Linked DNA regions of Homo sapiens: region 2 is linked to region 1. Evidence: promoter capture Hi-C in human tissues and cell types (Jung and others, 2019). All regions are on one chromosome and are shown on one strand. Each heading gives the region's core, a stretch centred on a gene start or on the middle of the fragment in contact. The rest is flanking DNA. Distances are from core to core; before and after follow the strand shown. Region 1 holds the start of JTB (jumping translocation breakpoint). Region 2 overlaps NUP210L (nucleoporin 210 like).

The links. Contacts are between HindIII fragments. The study calls those that stand out against the background at their distance.
Region 2: a contact is called between a fragment that was not itself captured here and the fragment with the promoter of JTB in region 1, in 1 of the 25 tissues and cell types used here (thymus).

What each region holds. Positions count from the first base shown.
Region 1 is chr1:153,974,816-153,980,435 of GRCh38, reverse strand. JTB (jumping translocation breakpoint) reads left to right here and starts at 2,762. Exons shown (of 5, transcript NM_006694.4): 1 at 2,762-3,266; 2 at 3,423-3,460; 3 at 3,661-3,743; 4 at 4,531-4,610; 5 at 5,601-5,620. The coding sequence starts at 3,184. JTB-DT (JTB divergent transcript) reads right to left here and starts at 2,693. Exons shown (of 1, transcript NR_186180.1): 1 at 1,276-2,693. RefSeq lists silencers at 2,289-2,583, 2,872-2,921 and enhancers at 2,592-2,641, 2,643-3,291, 3,941-4,590. The HindIII fragment of the contact is 6,167 bases long and covers 835-5,620 here.
Region 2 is chr1:154,024,485-154,029,623 of GRCh38, reverse strand. It overlaps NUP210L (nucleoporin 210 like), which reads left to right. Exons shown (of 40, transcript NM_207308.3): 29 at 2,027-2,118; 30 at 3,908-4,082. Among named protein-coding and RNA genes, the nearest start is that of RPS27, 36 kb to the right of the region's middle. The HindIII fragment of the contact is 5,326 bases long and covers 946-5,139 here.

The DNA of each region.
Region 1 (5,620 bases), core at 1,513-4,012:
TGAGTTGAGATCACACCACTGCACTCCAGCCTGGGTGACACAGCCAGACTCTGTCTCAAAAAAACAAAAACGAAAACAAAAACATCTCTTTGCTGAATAACAAAGATGGCAAAACTACTGGAAATGCAAAAGAAAATTCAGGCTTGGGCCGAGCACGTTGTTTCATGCCTGTAGTCCCAGCACTTTGGGAGGCCGAGGTGGGTGGATCACTTCAGGTTGGGAGTTTGAGACCAGCCTGGCCAACATGGCGAAACCCCATCTCTACTAAAAATACAAAAAAAATTAGCTGGGCATGGTGGTGGGTGCCTGTAATACCAGCTACTTGGGAGGCTGAGGGAGGAGAATCGCTTGAACCTAGGAGGCAGAGGTTACTGTGAGCAGAGTTCGCACCATTACACTCCAGCCTGGAGACAGAGCGAAACTCCATCTCAAAAAAAAAAAAAAAATTCAGGCTTGATGCACAGCATCCTTAAGTATATATATATTATATTATATTATATATTACAATGTATAATTATATATATTATATATTAAATATATAGGAAATATATAATATATATAACATGTATATGTTTATAAACATATAACATATTATATATAATATATAATTATATATTATACATATATATTAAATATATATTATAATTATATATTTAATATATAATATATTATGTTTAATATATAATTATATATAATTATATTATGTTTAATATATAATATATAATACATATTTTAATACATAATATATATATATCCCCCTTTCACCATACATAATATTTTTTACACAGCAAAATGTAATAACTTGATAAATGTAAGTATCCAAGCATTGATGAGGTAATGATAAACCTTATTTGTGGCTTATGCTTAAGTTCTTTTTTTTTTCTTTTGAGATGAATTCTTGCTCTTGTTGCCCAGGCTGGAGTACAATGGTGTGATCTCGGCTCACCGCAACCTCTACCTCCCGGGTTCAAGTGATTCTCCTGCCTCAGCCTCACGAGTACCTGGGATTACAGGCATATGGCACCATGCCCAGCTAATTCTGTATTTTTAGTGGAGACGGGGTTTCTCCATGTTGGTCAGGCTGGTCTTGAACTCCCGACCTCAGGTGATCCGCCCACCTCGGCCTCCCAAATTGCTGGGATTACAGGCGTGAGCCACTGCGCCCAGCTGTGTTTGAGTTCTGTAGTAAACTGTCCGGTAGGTTTAATTTGCTCAAGCGATGAGGAAAAGACTTGCACTTTGTGCCTCCTGGGAAAGAGACTAACGTCTTCAACATACCTTATGGCAGATATTTAATTTCAGAGTAGAGACCCCACTCTGATGCCTGGTAAGGTTATTGGAAGTGAAATATCACAAGATCTTACAGTTTGTTGTGAGATAAGGTAGGATTTGGTGAGGAGTAACAAATACTAGCAGATTTCGGCCCAAACTTCAATTATAGCTAAACATTACTGGAAAAAACCCCACAACCTACTTTATGTAACATATAACTACTCACACACATACACAAAAATAATACACACACAATTTCAGCAAACACAAATAATAATTTAAAGAAACAAATTCAAAATTAGAGCCAGGTATGGTGGCACATGCCTGAAATCCCAGCTACTTGGGAGGATCCCTGAAGACGAGAAGTTCCAGGCTGTAATGCGCTATGATGGCTCCTGTGACTTGCCACTGCACTCCAGTCTGGCAACATAGCCAGAGTCCATCTCGTTCAAAAACAAAAACAAACAAACAAAAAACGGCGAAATGAAGGCTCAGCCCTCATCAGGTTTAGGTGACAGAGCTAGACCCTGTCTAAGAAAAAAAATAAAATTAAATGAAAATTCGTTATCAGACAGTAAAGCATGAACCCACAGTGCTGGTCAAGTCACTGCAGATCTGAGTGTGTATCAAGGTTTAACTCCATAAGATGAAAAGCAGGCAATGAATCTTTGGCCTGGGTGTTGACAGTCTAGGCTCAAGCCTCAGCTTTCCCACTCATTAGCTTGCTGACCTTGGACAAGTCACTTATATTCTCTGAACTTACTCATGAAACGGAGATACATTTCATCTGCCTCTCGCAAGAAAAAGTCCTGGTAAATACACATTAGCATTTCCGTTTTACACAGAACACTGACAGATACTTTCCTAAGATCATGGAGTTAATAACCACCAGAACCTAGACTCAATACTTATGGAACTTCAAATCTCATGCTTTTCTCATTGCACTTATGATTACTCCATTATGTAGGAGCAAGGGAGAGTTGAGAGCATTTGAAGAGGTTATGCAAAGGACCAGCTCTGAGGAGTAGGCTTAGCAAAGTAACATGAGGGAAGGTAACACCGTTCATCTGTGTAGCGGAGTGGGAGCCAAGAGACAAGGAGAAAGTTTCATGTTCGTCATGTGTCTCGGATATTCCGGTTTCTGCAGGGACGAGAACGCGCAGTTTCGCCTCCATCCCTTGACCTCCAACACAGCTTCTCCACTGGATCATCGGTGGCGATGAAGGGGCGGCTGGGGAAGGATGTCAGAGAAACCAGAAGCTTGACGGTGAATCCTCGGGTTTTAAGGAGAGAGCAAAGTCCTGAGAGGGCGACGTATTGTCCCTGCTCACCTAGCCCAGAATGAACAAACACGCGCCAGCCAGGGAGCAGCGAGCCGAGAATTCGGACGAGCCTCTGCAACCGCCATTTGCCGTTCTCGCAAAGACTACCAAGACCACAATGCAACGGGGCGCCGAGCTAATTCCCAGTGAGCAGCAGGCGAGGCGCCACCGACGCGGAAGACTATAAGCCCCAGCGGGCGACGACCGAACGCCCCCGGGAACACCGGGCCCCGAGCTCGGTCCCGCGCCCGAGGATCCTCCACGGGGCTAGATGGCTGCGTCGGGGGCGGGAGCGGAGGTGAGCGGGCGCTAGGGCCGCGAGCCCCCGCCGGCCCTTCCTCCAGCGCCCTGCGGACCCCGCAGAAGGCGCTCGCCTCCCTAGCCCGCAAAAACATATCGATTTTTCTCGCTGTGGCAACGGGGACGTCCTGATAGATCCTCTGCTCCAATAGGCAACTCCGGCCTTCCCTGCCCTGACCTGGAACCTCTGGGAGGGCTGCAGAGTAAGTGCCGCCTCTGCGCTCCGACGGAGGCACGAGGCCTGTGGAGTAGGTCCCTCTGTTCCGACAGGTGCGACACTTGGCGCTCCATGCTTGCGGGTGCCGGGAGGCCTGGCCTCCCCCAGGGCCGCCACCTCTGCTGGTTGCTCTGTGCTTTCACCTTAAAGCTCTGGTAAGGAGGAGGTAAGGGGAGGGAAAAGGAGGTCACTGGAGGACAGGATCGTTCCCGGCCTCGGGGCTGGGGGAGATCTTATCCATGGACAGCGCAGGAGGGGGTGCCCTATTTTCTGGGTTTTGACTTTTGTCCCTTCCCCCAACTCCGCTACAGCCAAGCAGAGGCTCCCGTGCAGGAAGAGAAGCTGTCAGGTGGGTGATTGTCTGGGAACCCGACACGTCCCGTCGTTTGTTTTTGGTTTTAGTATCTTCCCCATATACCAAGAGCACAGGTGGAAAAGGCCGGCACCACATGGAATGAGGGCAAGCGCTGTGCCGGGAAGTTGGATGGGCAGAGCCTGGGAGAAATGTTTTCTGAATGGCCTGGGGCTGGCATTTATCTTTCCTTTCAGCAAGCACCTCAAATTTGCCATGCTGGCTGGTGGAAGAGTTTGTGGTAGCAGAAGAGTGCTCTCCATGCTCTAATTTCCGGGCTGTGAGTATCTATTTCTCTACCCTTTTTTTTTTTAAACATCTAAGCAAACACTTAAGCAACATCTTAACATCCAAGTCTTATTAAGCTGCCTTTGCATCATCTTTTTTTCTTTCTTCTTGCAGTCTCAGTGTATGTCCAAATCTGTACTTGTCTTTCCCCTGAAAATGTGCCCCTTTCTTTCCAAGCTAATGGCAGTATTCAACTGATAACTATGGTTTTTTTGTTTGTTTTTGAGACGGAGTCTCACTCTGTTGCCCAGGCTGGAGTGCAGTGGCGAGATCTCGGCTCACCACAACCTCCGCCTCCCGGGTTCAAGCGATTCTCCTGCCTCAGCCTCCTGAGTAGCTGTGACTAAAGGCGCGTTGCACCATGCCTGGCTAATTTTTGTATTTTTAGTAGACTCGGGTTTCACTGTGTTGGCCAGGCTAGTCTCTAACTCCTTACCTCGTGATCTGCCCGCCTCGGCCTCCCAAAGTGCTGGGATTATAGGCGTGAGCCGCCACACCCGGCCTCAAATAACTATGTTTTATTCACTTTTAGTATAGTAGGCTCTGGAATGGAATGTATCTTTGCCACTCCTAGACTGTTGCCCCTGAAGTGTTCTAACATACATTCGTAATCATGCAACCACCACCTCCACCATCCGCATCAGAACTCTTTCATTAGCTCTCTGTTGCCTACCACTCCAAACCATAGCAGTTGGGCACCTGCACCTTCTGAATGGCAGCCTTTTTGTTTATCCTGTTGCCCCTTCCTAACATGTACTTTGCTCCTTTTCTCCTGGCAGAAAACTACCCCTGAGTGTGGTCCCACAGGATATGTAGAGAAAATCACATGCAGCTCATCTAAGAGAAATGAGTTCAAAAGGTGAGTGCTGTTTCTCTTCTCTGAGATCACCTCCTTTGCTCCTATGACTTTAGATGGATGGTCCCACCTTTTCCCCTGGTCTGGGGGTAGCATGGAATATCTGAAAGAAGAGGGGGCCGGGCTCACACCTATAATCCCAGTACTTAGGGAGGCTGAGGCTAACAGATCACCTGAGGTCAGGAGTTCGAGATCAGCCTGGCCAACGTGGTGAAACCCCATCTCTACTAAAAATACAAAAATTAGCTGGTGTGGTGGGTGCCCATAATCCCAGCTACTTGGGAGGCTGAGGCAGGGAGAATCACTTGAACCCAGGAGGCAGAGGTTAGAGTGAGCCAAGATCATGCCACTGCACTCCAGCCTGGGCAATGGAGCGAGACTGTGTGTCAAAAAAAAAAAAAAAAAAAAGAGGCTGGGAGGGGTGGCTCACGCCTGTAATCCCAGCACTTTGGGAGGCCGAGGCGGGTGGATCACGAGGTTAGGAGTTCAAGACCAGCCTGGCCAAGATGGTGAAACCTCATCTCTCTTAAAGATACAAAAATTAGCTGGGCATGATGGCGGGCACCTGTAATCCCAGCTACTTGGGAGGCTGAAGCAGAAAACTGCTTAAACCCGGGAGGTGGAGGTTGCAGTGAGCCAAGGTCACGCCACTGCACTCCAGTCTGGGTGACAGAGCGAGACACCATCTCAAAAATAATAAGAAAGAAGACGGGATTTGGAGCCAAATTACTTGAACCCAAGTCCCAGCTCTACTCCTCAGCACTATGTTATTGGCCATATTTTCTCATCAGTAAAATTGGTTAATACTAGCTCTGCTTATCCAGAGAATAAATTAAATGATCTATTTGAGAGGGATTTATGTACTATACACACAATAGAAGCCTGGCTCTGATTTCCTCTTGAGTGTATCCTGGCTAGGCTGAAGTAGAAGGGAAATTAGAGGGAGAAGCTGTCTGGCCTTCCTTGGGAATAACTATTCCTTCCTGCCCTCAGCTGCCGCTCAGCTTTGATGG
Region 2 (5,139 bases), core at 2,359-4,858, 48 kb before region 1:
CCATCTCCTGCGTTCAAGTAATTCTCCTGCCTCAGCCTCCCGAGTAGCATGTGCCACCAAGCCCAGCTAATTTTGTAATTTTAGTAGAGACGGGGTTTCTCCATGTTGGTCAGGCTGGTCTGAAACTCCTGACCTCAAGTGATCCTCCTGCCTCGGCCTCCCAAAGTGCTGGGATTACAGGCGTGAGCCACTGTGCCTGGCCTGTTTTTTGTTTTTTTGTGGTTTTTTTTTTTTTTTTTTTTTTTTTTGAGACAGTCTTGCTCTGTTGCCCAGGCTGGAGTGCAGTGGTGTGATCTTGGCTCACTGCAAGCTCCTCCTCCCAGGTTCACACCATTCTCCTGCCTCATTCTCCCAAGTAGCTGGGACTACAGGTGCCTGCCACCATGCCCGGCTAATTTTTTGTATTTTTAGTAGAGACAGGGTTTCACTGTGTTAGCCAGGATGGTCTCGATCTCCTGACCTCGTGATCTGCCCGCCTCAGCCTCCCAAAGTGCTGGGATTACAGGTGTGAGCCACCATGCCTGGCTTGTTTTTTGTTTTTGAGACAGAGTCTCACTCTGTCACCCAGGCTGGAGTGCAGTGGCACAATCTCCACTCACTGCAGCGTTCAGGTAATTCTCCCTGCCTCAGCCTCCCGAGTAGCTGGGATTACAGGCGTGCACCACCATGCCCGGCTAATTTTTGTATTTTTAGTAGAGACGGGGTTTCGCCACGTTGTCCAGGCTGGTCTCAAACTCCTAACCTCAAGTGATCCACCCGCCTTGGCCTCCCAAAGTGCTAGGATTACAGACGTGAGCTACCACGCCCGGCTGCTTTTATATACTATTAACATTAGAAACTATTAGTACTTGCAGGTGAGTAGTCTGGAAAAAAAAAGAAAAGAAACTGTAGCACACACACTCCCTTCAACTCCCCATATCAGGAACACAGGATATGAACACCATAGTAACTAGAGAGGGATTCATTTCTGATCCACTCCACCTGACATAGATATTATAAGTCCATTAACAATTTTTATTTAATTATTTATTTATTTTGAGACAGAGTTTCACTCTGTTGCTTAGGCTGGAGTGCAGTAGCATGATCTCGCCTCACTGCAACCTCCACCTCCCAAGTACAAGTGATTCTCCTGCCTCAGCCTCCTGAGTACCTGAGATTACAGGCATGCGCCACCATGCCTGGCTACTTTTTGTATTTTTAGTAGAGATGGAGTTTCGTTATGTTGACCAGGCTGGTCTCAAACTCCTAACCTCAGGTAATCTGCCCGTCTTGGTCTCCCAAAGTGCTGGGATTACAGGTATGAGCCACCGCGTCCAGCCGATATAAGTCCATTTAAATATATTCACAGTTAGGATAAAACATAATTCTAACTTTTGATAAGGTGTAAGAGTATGAATAGTTTCTACAGATATTCTTGGGCTAAAAGCTAAATGGCTCTGTTGTTTTTAGAATTCAAAAAACAAATTATCACTTATATGGGTCGAGTAAGTTTCACTGCCTCTGATTTTGAGACTTTTTTTTTCTTTTCCTGTTTTATTTTTTCCTTTATTTTGGCTTTGGTTCTCTGATTCCATGTGAAGTAGAGGAAGGAGCACTTTACTAGAAGGTGGAAGACCTGGATGTTATTTCATGCTAATTTAATATTATAAGTTCTTTTCCCCAAACTTCATGTCATTTTACCAGAGCCAAAATTAGAAATTTCAAAGTATTTTTATACCTAATATCTAAGCAATATGGAAGATGTGGTAAGTGTAAACTTTGCTACATGCTGAGTCCCTCAGAGTCAGAAACAGGGCTAACATTAGGTTATATCTTCTAGAATATCTAGTTACGTTTTGAGTGCCTGGTTCATTTTGGAGAGGAGTATTGTGGACGATTTTAGACTAATTAGAAGTTAGGCAGACTGTTGATTCGTAGTTGTCATTTATTTGCATGTAATCTCTTCGGGATTATACTGAAGTCTATATGTAAGTAAAAGTCATAATTTGTCTTTGCCAAAAATGAGGAAAACATTTTCTCATTATAGGTGTTTGAAAAACTCCAACTCTTCTATCCAGAGTGCCAACCAGAGCAGATTCTGATGCCTATAAATTCTCAGCTCAAACTCCATACCAACAGGTAAGGAAAAGGGAGAATAAGGAAGTGCCAGGATCTAAGCTTAAGTATTTTCAGTAAAACATTGACATAGAAAGAACACTTTTGCCTTCTAGGAGATTTTTCCCAAATAATTTTTTGTGTGAGGTGAAATTCCCATAATGTAAAACTATTGTAAAGTGTAAAATTCAGTGGCATTTAGTACATTCACAATATTGTGTATTCAGCATCTCTATCTAGTTCCAAATATTTTTATCACCACCAAAGGAGATCCCATACCTGTGAAGCAGTCACTCTTCTTTCTTTCCTCCTCGCAGCCCCTGGCAATCACTAATCTGCTTTCTGTGTACGGTATTAGCTATCCTGAATGTATTTCATATAAATGGAATCATACAGTATGCAACGTTTTGTGTTTTTTGTTTTTTTTTTTTTGTTTTTTTTTTTTTTTTGAGACAGTCTCGCTCTGTTGCCCAGGCCAGCGCACAGTGGCACAATCTCAGCTCACTGCAACCTCCACCTCCCAGGTTCAGGCAATTCTCCTGCCTCAGCCTCCTGAGTAGCTGGGATTACAGGTGCCTGCCACCACACCTGGCTAATTTTTGTATTTTTAGTAGAGATGGGGTTTCACCATGTTGGCCAGGCTGGTCTTGAACTCCTGACCTCAGGCGATCCTCCCGGCTCGGCCTCCCAAAGTGCTGGGATTATAGGTGTGAGCCACCACGCCCAGCCTTGTGTTGGCTTCTTTAAGTTAGCATAATGTTTTTGAGGTTCATCCATGTTGTAGCATGTATCAGTACTTCTTCCTTTTTATGACTGAATAGTATTCCATTATATGGAAATACCACATTTAGTTTATAATTTCATCTCCTAATAGAAATTTGGGGCTGGGCACAGTGGCTCATGCCTGTAATCCCAGGCCTCTGGGAGGCCAATGCAGGTGGATCACCTGAGGTTGGGAGTTCGAGACCAGTCTGATCAACATGGAGAAACCCCAACTCTACTAAAAATACTAAATTAGCCAGGGGTGGTTGCACATGCCTGTAATCCCAGCTACTCAGGAGGCTGAGGCAGGGGAATCACTTGAACCCGGGAGGCGGAGGCTGCAGTGAGCCAAGATCACGCCATTGAACTCCAGCCTGGGCAACAAAAGCGAAACTCCGTCTCAAAAAAGAAAAGAAATTTGGGTTGTTTTCACCTTTTGGCTATTGTGAATAGTGCTGCTATGAATATTCATTTGCAAGTATTTACCTGAATACCTGCTTTCAATTGTTTTGGCTGAATAATTATTTTTTTGAAACGGAGTTTTGCTCTTGTCCCCCAGGCTGCAGTGCAAATGGTGTCATCTCGGCTCACTGCAACCTCAGCCTCCCAGGTTCAAGCCATTCTCCTGCCTCAGCCTCCCGAGAAGCTGGGATTACAGGCACCCGCCATCATGCCCAGCTAAAAATTTTTTTTTTTTTTGTATTTTTAGTAAAGACGGGGTTTCACCATGTTGGCCAAGCTGGTCTTGAACTCCTGACCTCAGGTGATCCTCCCGCCTTGGCCTCCCACAGTGCTGGGATTACAGACATGAGCCACCACACCCGGCCTAAATAATTCTTTAATTATAAATATGTAATAAGATTTGATTTTAAAGAAATAAGCATAATCCAAAGGCAGACTTTTACCTGAGGAACAAATAATTACACACGTGGAGAATGGCAAGCAGTTTTCTCGAGTACATCCCCTAACAGTAATCCTGGAAATTTTTACTCTTTTCTCTCTGGTCAGACAGGACCCCAAAAAGATGCCACTTCCTTTCCTTGTTCCCTAGGGAAGGAGCTGCCTTCGTGAGTTCTCGTGTTCTCAAGTGTTTCCCTAATTCATCCGTCATTGAGGAGGATGGTGAAGGGCTCCTGAAAGCTGGTTCCATTGCAGGTACTGCTGTATTGGAAGTCACTTCTATAGAACCTTTTGGAGTCAACCAAACAACCATAACTGGGGTCCAGGTGAGTTCATGGACTTACTAAAAAAAACAAATAAATAAAAGTCATACCCTGGCCTTAAAAAGCAGAGTTTCTTTTTTAAAAAACTAGAAATTTTCTTATCATGCCATTAAAGAAAAAAAGAAAAAGAAAAGAATTAGAAACTTCTGTATCATGAGAGAACATGAACCAGAAAAAAAAAAAAAAAAAGGAGAAGAAGAAGAAGAAGAAACTCTCTGGGAGTCAGAAATGAACCTATAAGAGGCCAGTCTTGACATGGTTATAAGCCATAAAATTAAAATGAACTTTAGAGCCCTTGTTATAAAACAGATCAGCCTGGCCGGGCACGGTGGCTCACGCCTGTAATCCCAGCACTTTGGGAGGCTGAGGCAGGCGGATCACGAGGTCAGGAGATCGAGACCATCCTGGCTAACACGGTGAAACCCCTTCTCTACTAAAAATACAAAAAATTAGCTGGGCGAGGTGGCGGGCGCCTGTAGTCCCAGCTACTCAGGAGGCTGAGGCAGGAGAATGCCGTGAACCCCGGGGGGCGGAGCCTGCAGTGAGCCAAGATCACGCCACTGCACTCCAACCTGGGCGACAGCAAGACTCCATCTCAAAAAAAAAAAAAAAAAAAAAAAAACAGATCAGCCTAAATTTATATGATTGTCTTCCTAGCAGCTTTGGCAAAAGGACTGGTATCGGAGGAGTGTAGAATGATTGCTATCAAAATTGGCTGGGCTGGGTGACTCACGCCTGTAAGCCCAGCACTTTGGAAGGCTGAGGCAGGAGAATCACTTGAGGCCAAGAGTTTAAGACCAGCCTGAGCAACATAATGAGACCCCTATCTCTACAAAAAATGAAAAAAAAAAAAAAATAGCCGGGCTTGGTGGCACATGTCTGCAGTCCTAGCTGCTTGGGAGGCTGAGGTGGAGGATCACACGAACCTAGGAGTTCGAGGCTGCTTTGTGCTGCAATTGAACTGCTGCACTGCAGCCTGGAAAACAAAGCAACAATCTGTTTCTTTTTAAAAAATTAAGCTTTGCTACAAGAATTAAAAAATTGAGAAAAGACCTCAGAG